Linked DNA regions of Homo sapiens: region 2 is linked to region 1. The links are contacts of gene promoters, found by promoter capture Hi-C in human tissues and cell types (Jung and others, 2019). All regions are on one chromosome and are shown on one strand. The core of a region is centred on a gene start or on the middle of the fragment in contact, and the rest is flanking DNA. Distances in the headings are between cores, read along the strand shown. Region 1 holds the start of EPS15L1 (epidermal growth factor receptor pathway substrate 15 like 1). Region 2 overlaps MYO9B (myosin IXB).

What was found. The method cuts DNA at HindIII sites, captures the fragments that hold promoters and counts their contacts. A contact is called where the count stands out against the background at its distance.
Region 2: a contact is called between a fragment that was not itself captured here and the fragment with the promoter of EPS15L1 in region 1, in 1 of the 25 tissues and cell types used here (aorta).

Annotation. Positions count from the first base shown.
Region 1 is chr19:16,469,443-16,474,706 of GRCh38, forward strand. EPS15L1 (epidermal growth factor receptor pathway substrate 15 like 1) reads right to left here and starts at 2,528. Exons shown (of 24, transcript NM_001258374.3): 1 at 2,471-2,528. The coding sequence starts at 2,503. RefSeq lists enhancers at 1,706-2,617, 1,850-1,999 and silencers at 2,080-2,299, 2,360-2,759. The HindIII fragment of the contact is 15,921 bases long and covers 1-5,264 here.
Region 2 is chr19:17,166,118-17,171,381 of GRCh38, forward strand. It overlaps MYO9B (myosin IXB), which reads left to right. Exons shown (of 40, transcript NM_004145.4): 11 at 1,826-1,947. Among named protein-coding and RNA genes, the nearest start is that of USE1, 47 kb to the right of the region's middle. The HindIII fragment of the contact is 6,459 bases long and covers 1-5,264 here.

The DNA.
Region 1 (5,264 bases), core at 1,278-3,777:
TTTCCACGGAAGGCTTTTTGGAAAGCAGAAGAGAGCTGAGCAGGGGGACAGGGAGACACACAAATCACTGAGATGCTGTTGGGAAAAAAAAATCACTCCTAAAGAGGCAGAGGTGCAGACCTTTCGAATTTACGTTGATATTCAGGGTCAGAAAAGAGTATATAAGGAAGGAGATTCTGAGATGATGTCATGGAGTACAGAACAGACTGAAAAAGATGCTGATGGGAAAAGTGCAGACAGGAGTGGGGGTGGAGAAAACACACCCCTCCTCCCCTAGGCTAGCCCGCTGGGTTATCCACTTTGCTCACCTTCACCTGGCCATCTGCTTGCCAAGTGTGCTCTGTCACCTAAATCCAACCAGATCACAGCCACCTGCTGCAGGGTGCTTCCCTTTTGCCCCCAACCAAAAATTTTGGAATTATACCCTTGGTTCCCCCAGAGTTATCTGTGAACCCAAGTGATCTCCTGAGCTAGACAGTAAGGGCCTGGGAGGGCCATGCCTCACACCTGGGCCAACAGTAACCCATGGTGTAGATTTTCACTCGAGAGCAAGTGTAAAGAAGTGCTGACATTTCCAAACGAAGAAAACCAGGCCACGCCTTCATTCAACAAATGTATAGGGAAAGGAACAGGAAGAGGCTAAGAAGTCAGTGACCTGGCCAGGCGCAGTGGCTAACGCCTGTAATCCCAGCACTTTGGGAGGCCAAGGCGGGTGGATCACTCGAGTTCAGGAGTTTGACACGAGCCTCGCCAAAATGGTGAAACCCCGTCTCCACTAAAAAAAAAATACAAAAATTAGCCGGGTGTGGTAGCACGTGCCTGTAGTCCCAGCTACTCAGGAGGCTGAGGCAGGAGAATCACTTGAACTCGGGAGGCGGAGGTTACAGTGAGCTGAGATCATGCCACTGCACTCCACCCTGGGTGACAGAGCAATACTCCATCTCAAAAAAAAAAAAATTGGACAGGAAGTTTTAGAAAGATCCACGCCTCCCAAACTGGGAGTGCTTAGTGCTTTCTCATGAAATGATCTTAGGTGATTTTCCCCCGACTCCCGCCTTCCCCGCCCCCCACCCCCTGACTACATACTCTAAACTGTAGCACTTAGCTATTAACACCTATTATCGGTAGGACACTTAACAGTTTACAGAGCACTTTCATGTCAGTAACAAGAACTTGCTAATTAATAATCACCGGGTTTTAGCACTGTTAACTTAGTGACAGTGTTGCAAATTGGCTAGCTGTGCACTTCTCTCTCCTTGGATCAGCTAACCAGTCATGCAAGCATGCAACCGGCCTATCAACTCTCTTTGGGTTTGGAATTCTTAATTGCTGCGGTCTCTACTCCCAAACGTCCAAATCTGGCAGAGATTAAATGATGACAGTAATTATAGGATCACTGAGTGCCTCTCATATGCTAGGCACTGTTCTAAGCGCTTTTTCACGTGCTTAATTTTCACATAATCCCAACACATTTTTATATCTCCATTTTCCAAAGGAAGCAACTGATGGGTGGAATGGCTAAGAGCTTCAACCAAAGGCACAGAGAAATCGGGGCTGGAGCCAAGATTTGAACACATGATCTGACCCTGTGTCCTCACTCTTAATCACCATGCTGTGCTAGATCATTCTAGCAAAATGCTTATATGGTGCTTTGCACAACACAGGTATTCAGCAAATAAAGGCAGCTGTGATTAGCATAACACAGGTAGTTTCTAGTTCCCACGAGTGTCACCTCCAGGAAAGCAGCGACCTTGTCTGTCTGGAAGAATGCAGCGCTCCCAGCACCTGACCCAACGCACATTTGAGGGATGGATAGAAAATGAATGAATGAAAGTCTCTCCCAAATAACAGAGCTGCCTACGCATGGCTCTTTTTCGCATGTCTGTGTCGCGCTATCGATACTGCCCCTTCATAAGCGCATCAGGCGAATTTGAGGACACAGAGAGGCGCCCGGAGACGTACGATCTGCGCCCGGTGCAGGGGTGGCGGAAGCAGCTTCCAAGGAGGCAGGGGATCAGTCTGAGATCGCACTGCTGCTGACGGGTCCGGGCTCCGGCGGGACCCTGCCCGCCCGGGCGCCGGGACCGGAGGGAGACAAAGACTCGCTGGGCCGCCGCGCCGACAGAAACGCTCGCACCCCTCGCCCACCCCTCCGGGATGCAGCCCAGCGCCTCCGCGGGTCCCCGGCCTGGGAGCTTCAGCGGCGGCAGGGTCCGGGCCCTGGGCGGAGAGGACACGCGCTGCGCACCTCCTCGCCTCGCCGGTGCCCGCGAGGGTCGCTCGGGCACGGGAGGCCGCGGGTCCCGGCCTGTCACCTTCAGGGCCGCCTGCCCACCCGCCCGCCGCAAGCCCTTCAGCACGCGCCGCCCCCGCCGCCGCCTGGCTGAGTCTCCCAGCGCCTCAGCCTCGCCGCACCGCTCGCCTCGCGCCCCGCACCCCGGCGCCGCCCCCAGGCCCGCCCGGCCCGTACCTGCTGGGAGAGGGGGATGAGCGGCGCCGCCATCTTCCCGCGGACTCGGGCTCCGAGCGCCGGGGGAACGGGGGCGGGGCTGCAGCCACGCGTGCGCACTGGGACGACGGGAGGGCGGTGCGCAGGCCGCCTGTCCCGGGAGAGGGCGGGGCCGTAGACAGGGCCACGCATGTGCAGTCAGGCCGGGAGGGGCGGGGGCAGGGGCGGGGCCGCCCACACGCAGCCTGGAGGGGCTGGGCCTGAGGCATCTGCGTCTTCCGTGCTCTCTTGCCCGTTCCCCTACTCCTCCTTCCAACGTTGTTCGGACTCTCATGCCGCTGGCCGCTGTCCGAGTCGACCATGCTGTGTCATCCCTCCAGCCCATGCCGAGGCCTGGTTCTCTGTTAGGGATGCCGTCCCCCTGCCAGTGCGCCTGGGGAGGCGGTCGCCCACCCCGCGGAGGGTCGGGACCCTCACCCTGCCCCGCAAAGCGCCCTGTTCCTAGGATCGCAGTGTGTGTGTGTGTGTGTGTGTGTGTGTGTGCGCGCTAATTTGGGGGACCCGCACCCTGCCCCCCTCACCCTGCCCCGCAAGGCGTCCTCCTGGCTGTGGTGGCGGGCACCTGAAATCCAAGCTACTCAGGAGACTGAGGCAGGAGAATTGCTTGAGCCCAGGAAGCAGAGGTTTCAGTGAGCCAAGATCACACCATTGCAATCCAGCCTGGGCAACAGAAGCGAAACTCTGTCTCAAAAATAAATAAATAAATAAGACAAGAACCCACTTGTTGCCAGGTACAGTGGCTTACACCTGTAATCCCAGCACTTTGGGAGGCCGAGGTGGGAGGGTCATGAGGTCAGGAGTTGGAGACCAGCCTGGCCAGTATGGTGAAACATCAATATGGTGAAACCCCATCTCTACTAAAAAAAATACAAAAATTAGCAGGTGTGGTGGTGCATGCCTGTAGTCCCAGCTACTCAGGAGGCTGAGGCCAGAGAATCACTTGAACCCGGGAGGTGGAGGTTGCGGTGAGCCAAGATTGCACCACTGCACTCCAGCCTGGGTGACAGAGTGAGACTCTGTCTCAAAACAAAGTCAAAAACAAAAAGAACCCACTTGTAACTGTTGCTAATCAAAGCATACATTCAGGGCAACTTGAATCTGTGTCTCCTGGACTGCGGTCCTCAACCTTGGCCCAAACTCTCTACTTATATTAACTTTGCCTCAGCTTCTTTTGTTACATCAATAGAGTAATGAAGGTTTTTAACAGTCTTGAGTGCTTTATCAGTACGTATTCCATAAGGAAAAGAGAAGTCCTTCTAGGTACTTCAAACAGAGGATATTGAATACAGGGGATTGAGCCAGGCTCTGTGGCTCACACTTGTAATCCCAGCAATCCAGTTGAGACAGGTAGATTGATACCAGCCTGGCCAACATGGAGAAACCCCATCTTTACTAAAAATACAAAAATTAACCCAGTGCAGTGGCAGGTGCCTGTAATCCCAGCTACTCAGGAGGCTGAGGCAGGAGAATTGCTTGAACCTGGGAGGGGAAGGTTGCAATAAGCTGAGAACTCACCATTGCACTCCAACCTAGGTGACAGAGCGAGACTCTGTCTAAAAAATAAATAAATAAAAATAAATGAATACATAAACGACTACAGGGGACTGAGTATAAAAGTGTTGGAAGTACTGGAAGAACAAAAGAGGAAGGTAAGTTTACCTAAAGATTCATAACTATATGAGGCTGCTAGCCTCTCTAGAGCTGAAAGATTAAAGCAGGGGAGGTGGCTGGGCATAGTGGCTCACGCCTGTAATCCCAGCACTTTGGGAGGCCGAGGTGGATGGATCACCTGAGGTCAGAAGTTTGAGACCAGCCTGGCCAACATGATGAAATCCCGTGTCTACTAAAAATACAAAAATTAGCCGGTTGTGGTGGTGGGCACCTGTAATCCCAGCTACTCGGGAGGCTGAGGCAGGAGAATCACTTGAACCTGGGAGGCGGAGGTTGCAGTGAGCTGAGATCACGCCACTGCACTCCAGTTTGGGCAACAAGAGCGAAACTCCGTCTCAAAATAAATAAATAAATAAAGCACAGGAGGACCCATAACCCACAATCACTGTGCCTACAGAAGGATCCCAGATGTGTTCACCCTTGCTAGCCACAGTTGCCTCCACCATGATTGCGAAAGTCACAGTTGTTGTTGTCACCACCACCTAAGCCACTGGCAGAAGTCTGAAAAAATGGTTTCTCCCCTCTTTCTGCCTCCCAACTTTGTTCTAATAAAGCATGACAGGAACGTTGCCAATTGGCAACGGCGTCCAGGAAATGTAGCATGCAGGCTTTAAGTGCCAGTATCAGAGTCTAGAATGGTGGTGGCCATAGAAACTCTCCAGCATCATCTTGTAAAAATAATCCAAACTTGGCTGGGCGCGGTGGCCCACACCTGTAATTCCAGCCCTTTGGAGGGCCGAGGCAGGCAGTTCACGAGGTCAGGAATTCGAGACCAGCCTGGCCAACACAGTGAAACCCCATCTCTACTAAAAATACAAGAATTAGCCAGGCGTGGTGGCGGGTGCCTGTAATCCCAGCTACTCGGGAGGCTGAGGCAGGAGAATTGCTTGAACCTGGGATGGGGAGGTTGCAGTGAGCCAAGATCGCACCATTGCACTCCAGCCTGGGCAACAAGAGCAAAACTCCGTCTCAGAAGAAAAAAAAGAAAAAAAAAAAGGCCGGGCATGGTGGCTCACGCCTGAAATCCCAACACTTTGGAAGGCCGAGGCAGGCAGATCATGAGGTCAGGAGATCGAGACCATCC
Region 2 (5,264 bases), core at 1,214-3,713, 700 kb after region 1:
CTGCAACCTCCACCTCCCAGGTTCTAGTGATTCTCCTGCCCCAGCCTCCCCAGTAGCTGGGGTCACAGGTGTGTGCCACCAGGCCCGGCTAATTTTTGTATTTTTAGTAGAGACAGGGTTTCACCATGTTGGCCAGGTTGGTCTTGAACTCCTAACTTCAGGTGATCTGCCCACCTCAGCCTCTCAAAGTGCTGGGATTACAGGCGTGAGCCACCACGCCCAGCCCTTGTGTGATATTTAAAGTGCCATGCTGTGATCAGTATTTAAGAATGTGCATTCTTGTTTCCTGTTTACAATCATTCATTTATCTAGTAAGTTTATGTAACTATTAATGTATTCATATTGATTTACTCATATGCATTTTGTTACTGATATATTTATGTTTTTTTTTTTCACTTTGAAGTTCAGGGGTACATGTGCAGATTTGTTACATAGGTAAACTTGTGTCATGGGGGTTTGTTGTACAGATTATTTCATCACCCAGGTATTAAACCTAGTACCCACTAGTTATTTTTCCTGATCCGCTCACTCCTCCCACCCTCCACCCTCCAATAGGCCCCAGTGTGTGTTGTTCCCCTCTATGTGTCCATGTGTTCTCATCATTTGGCTCCCTCTTATAAATAAGAACATGCAATATTTGGTTTTCTGTTCCTGCATTAGTATGCTAAGGGTAATGGCCTCCAGCTCCATCCATGTTCCTGCAAAGGACATGACCTCATTCCTTTTTTATGGCTGGGTAGTATTCCTTGATGTATATGCACCACATTTGCTTTATCCATTAGTGGGCATTTAGATTACTTATTTGTTATTGTGAATAGTGCTGCAAAGAACACACACATGCAGATACATTTATATGTAAACATGCCTATTGATACATAAATATGTTCCTACAGTGTGGGGATCCCTTATCCAAACTGCTTGGGAGCAGAAGTGTCTCAGGTTTGGGATTTTTTTCAGATTTTTCAATATTTATATTATACTTACTGGTTGAACATCCCAAATCTGAAAATCCAAAATCTGAAATGCTTCAATGAGCGTTGTCTTTGAGCATCACATAACATTGGCAGTCCAAAAGTTTTGGATTTTTTTTTTTTTTTTTGAGATGGAGTCTTGCTATATTGCCCGGGCTGGTCTCAAACTCCTGGACTCAAGCCATCCTCCAGCCTCAGTAAAGTATTTTTTACTTTTTATTTTTTGCACAGACAGGATCTTGCTATGTTGTCCAGGCTGGTCTTGAACTCCTGGCCTCAAGCGATCCTACCACCTTGGCCTCTCAGTTACTTTTTATGTCAGTTACATGTTAACATGATCACATTTTGGATATATCATGTTAAATTAAGTGTATTATTAGAGCTATTTTTTTTTTTTTTTTTTTGTGACGGAGTTTCGCTCTTGTTGCCCAGGCTGGAGTAGGACTAATGGCGCAATCTTGGCTCACTGCAACCTCCACTTCCCGTGTTCAAGCGATTTTCCTGCCTCAGCCTCCTGAGTAGCTGGGATTACAGGCTTGTGCAACCACGCCTGGCTAATTTTGTATCTTTAGTAGAGATGGGATTTTGCTATGTTGGTCAGGCTGGTCTCAAACTCCTGACCTCAGGTGATCCACCTGCCTTGGCCTCCCAAAGTGCTGGGATTACAGGCGTGAGCCACTGTGCCCAGCCCTATTAGAGTTAATTTTAAGCCACGCATCAGTTTAAAAAGTTTCCTATTTTGAAGCATTTCAGATTTTCGGATTAGGGATACTCGACCTGTATGCAATATATGTTATGTAGATATTACATATCTGGGAGATAAGAAACTTACCGACCCCGCGCCACCCCTGCAGGAGGAATATCAGGGCGAGGGGATCACGTGGCACAACATCGGCTACACAGACAATGTCGGCTGCATCCATCTCATCAGCAAGAAACCCACGGGCCTCTTCTACCTGCTGGACGAGGAGAGCAAGTGAGTGTCCACACCCCGTCCATCCCGGCACATCTACGCATGGGCACTGGGTCAGGTTCTGCAGCCCCCAGAGCCTTACCCCAAATCCAGACTTTCCCAAGAGCGCCTTTTTATTTTTGAGACAGGGTCTCACTCTGTCACCCAGGCTGGAGTGTAGTGGTGCAATCAAAGCTCACTGCAGCCTTGACCTCCTGGGCTCAAGTGATCCCCTGACGTGAGCCTCTGGAGTAGCTGGGACTACAGGGTCACACCACCATACCCGGCTAATTTTTGTATTTCTTTGTAGCAACAGGGTTTCGTCATGTTTTCCAGGCTGGTCTTGAACTCCTTAGCTCAAGGGATCCTCCCGCCTTGGCCTCCGAGAGTACTGGGATTACAGGCGTGTGCCACCACGCCAGACCTTGTGCTGAGAACTTGTGTCTGTTCATTTCACTTGACCACAAAACCCAAGCTCGTGTGTGCAAAATGCACAAACACCTCATTGTGAAAACATCAACACGTGTGATTAATTCGTGCACTTGAGGCACATCCGCCAGGAGTTTTCAGCAAAGGATTATGGGCCTATGCCTAGAAACTAGACACTGGGGCCAGACGTGGTGGGGCATACCTGTGGCCCCAGCTACTCAGGAGGCTGAGACAGGAGGATCACTTGAGCCTGGGAGGTTGAGGCTGCAGGGAGCTGTGATCGTGTCACTGCACTCCAGCCTGGGCAATGGAGCAAGAGACAGGATTGGCGAGTTGTTACAAAGGGCAGTGCAGTGTGTGGAATTGGGACCCAGATGCTGCTGGGCTCTGGTCTCACTTCTGAGCCTTCCTCCCTCATCCCCACAGTCCACAGGGCGCTGTGAAGGCAGACAGGTCAATAAGGCACCTCATTCTGGGTCACCCAGTTGTAGTCACTGAAATCACGTGACACATACCGAACTACTTTCCTGTGGCTCCTCTAAGGAACCGCTACAAGCCAGGTGGGCTCTTGAGCCCAGGAGATCAAGACCAGCCTGGGCAACACAGAAAGATTCCACCTCGGCCAGGCACAGTGGCTCACGCCTGTAATCCCAGCACTTTGGGAGGCCGAGGCAGGCGGATCACCTGAGGTCAGGAGTTGGAGACCAGCCTGGCCAACATGGTGAAGCCCCGTCTCTACTGAAAATACAAAAATTAGCCGGGCATGGTGACAGGCGCCTGTAATCCCAGCTACTCAGGAGGCTGAGGCAGGAAAATTGCTTGAACCTGGGAGGCGGAGGTTGCAGTGAGCGGAGATCACTCCATTGCACTCCAGCCTGGGTGACAGACCAAGACTCTGTCTCAAAAAAAAAAAAAAAAAAAAAGATTCCATCTCTACAAAAAAATTTTTAACCAGCCTGGCCAACATGGCAAAACCCCATCTCTACTAAAAATGCAAAAATTAGCCAGGCATGGTGGCGGGTGCCTATAATTCCAGCTACTTGGGAGGCTGAGGCAGGAGAATTGTTTGAACCCGGGAGGTGGAGTTCTTAAAACCACAGTAATCTATTCTCTTATGGTTCTGGAAGCTGGAAGTCTAAAGTCAAACTGTCAGCAGAGCTGTGCTGCCTCCAGAGGCTCCAAGGGAGGACCCTTTCTTGCCTCCTCCAGCTTCTAGGGGTCCAAGCTTTCCTTGGCTTTTGGCCACATCACTCCAGTCCCTGCCTCCCTCTTCCTCTTCACATGGACTTCTTCCCTCTGTGTCTGCATCATTCATCTCAATCCTGTCTCCTCCTTTTTTTTTTTTTTTTTTTTTTTTTTTTTGAGACAGGCTCTTCTTGCTCTGTTGCCCAGGCTGGAGGGTAGTGGCGCCATCTTGGCTCAAGTTAATTGGCGTCATCTCAGCTCACTGTAACCCCCACCTCCCAGGATCAAGCGATTCTCGTGTCTCAGCCTCCCGAGTAGCTGGGATCACAGGTGCCTTGCCACCATGCCCAGCTAATTTTTGTATTTTTAGTAGAGATGGGGTTTTTTCACCATGTTGGCCAGGCTGCTTAAAAATTTTTTTTTGTAGAGATGGAATCTCCCTGTATTGCCCAGGCTAGTCTTGAACTCCTGGGCTCAAGCAGTCCTCTCACCTTGACCTCCCAAAGTGCTGGGACCATAGGTGTGAGCCATTACACCTGACCCTGTCTTCTGTTTTTAGAAGGACACCATCCATATGGAACTAGGTCCCACGCTAATGACCTCATCTTAACTAATTACATCTCCAAAGACCCTATTTTCCAAATAAGGTCACATTCAAAAGTTGGTGGTATGGGGTTAAGATATGGACATATTGTCTTATCAGCAGCTCTATCAGACCCATCCCTTGCCAATGACATCTCCAAGGGGCTGGCCAGAGACTCAAATGAATGAGGCACATCCCCTGCCTCAAACCTAGTCCCTGTCCAGGTCAGGGAGACAGACACATCCCTCTGAGGCTGGGGTCCAGGTAGAGAATGTTCAGATAAGAGCATTTGTGCCAGGTGCGGTGGCTCCCACCTGTAATTCCAACACTTTGGGAGGCCGAGGTGGAGGATCATTTGAGACCAGGAGTTAAAGACCAGCCTGGGCACCATAGTGAGACCCCATCTCTACAAAAAAAAAAAAAAAAAAAAAAAAAAACTAGCTGGGCACAGTGGCATGCACCTATAGTCCCAGCTACTCAGGAGGCTGAGGCAGGAGGATCACTTGAGCCCAGAGAGTCAAGGCTACAGTGAGTTGTGATTGTACCATTGCATTCTAGCCTGGGCAACAGAGCAAGACCCCAGCTCTAAAAATTAAAAAAAAAAAAAAAAAAGTAGAGACGGCAGTAGGAGGAGCTACGTCATCACAACCAGGAAACTCCCAGGGTCAGATCAGGGGAAGCCCGTGAGGCAAGGCCTGGCCCAGCAGGCTCGAGTCTCTTTAAAATCTTGCTATTTTTGCTCATCATGGAATTTTTTTTTTCTTTTTGCACATTGATTTAGATTTTCTGAAATACTGTGCTAAAATATTACCTATCTCAATGACTGAGGGTTTTGGGGGACACTCAAGGCAGATGCCTTACACTCCATACCCTCTTTACAGTCCTGGAAATGATATGTTTCATAGCTATAGACTCTCCCCTCCTTGGCCCCGTTAACGCGGAGCCCCCGATGTTGGGATCTGGGCATGCGTTCCGCTGCCTGTATTTTCAAAAGTGGGGCCGGGCTCAGGCAGCATTTGCCAAACCAACAACATCATTTCCCTCCTGGGAGGCAGACTCAGTCAGGTACAAGGAGTCCCTTATTCTGCCCCCACAATCTCCCCCTCCCCGGAGCACAACAGAGCCCTGCTTCATCCTCCTCTCC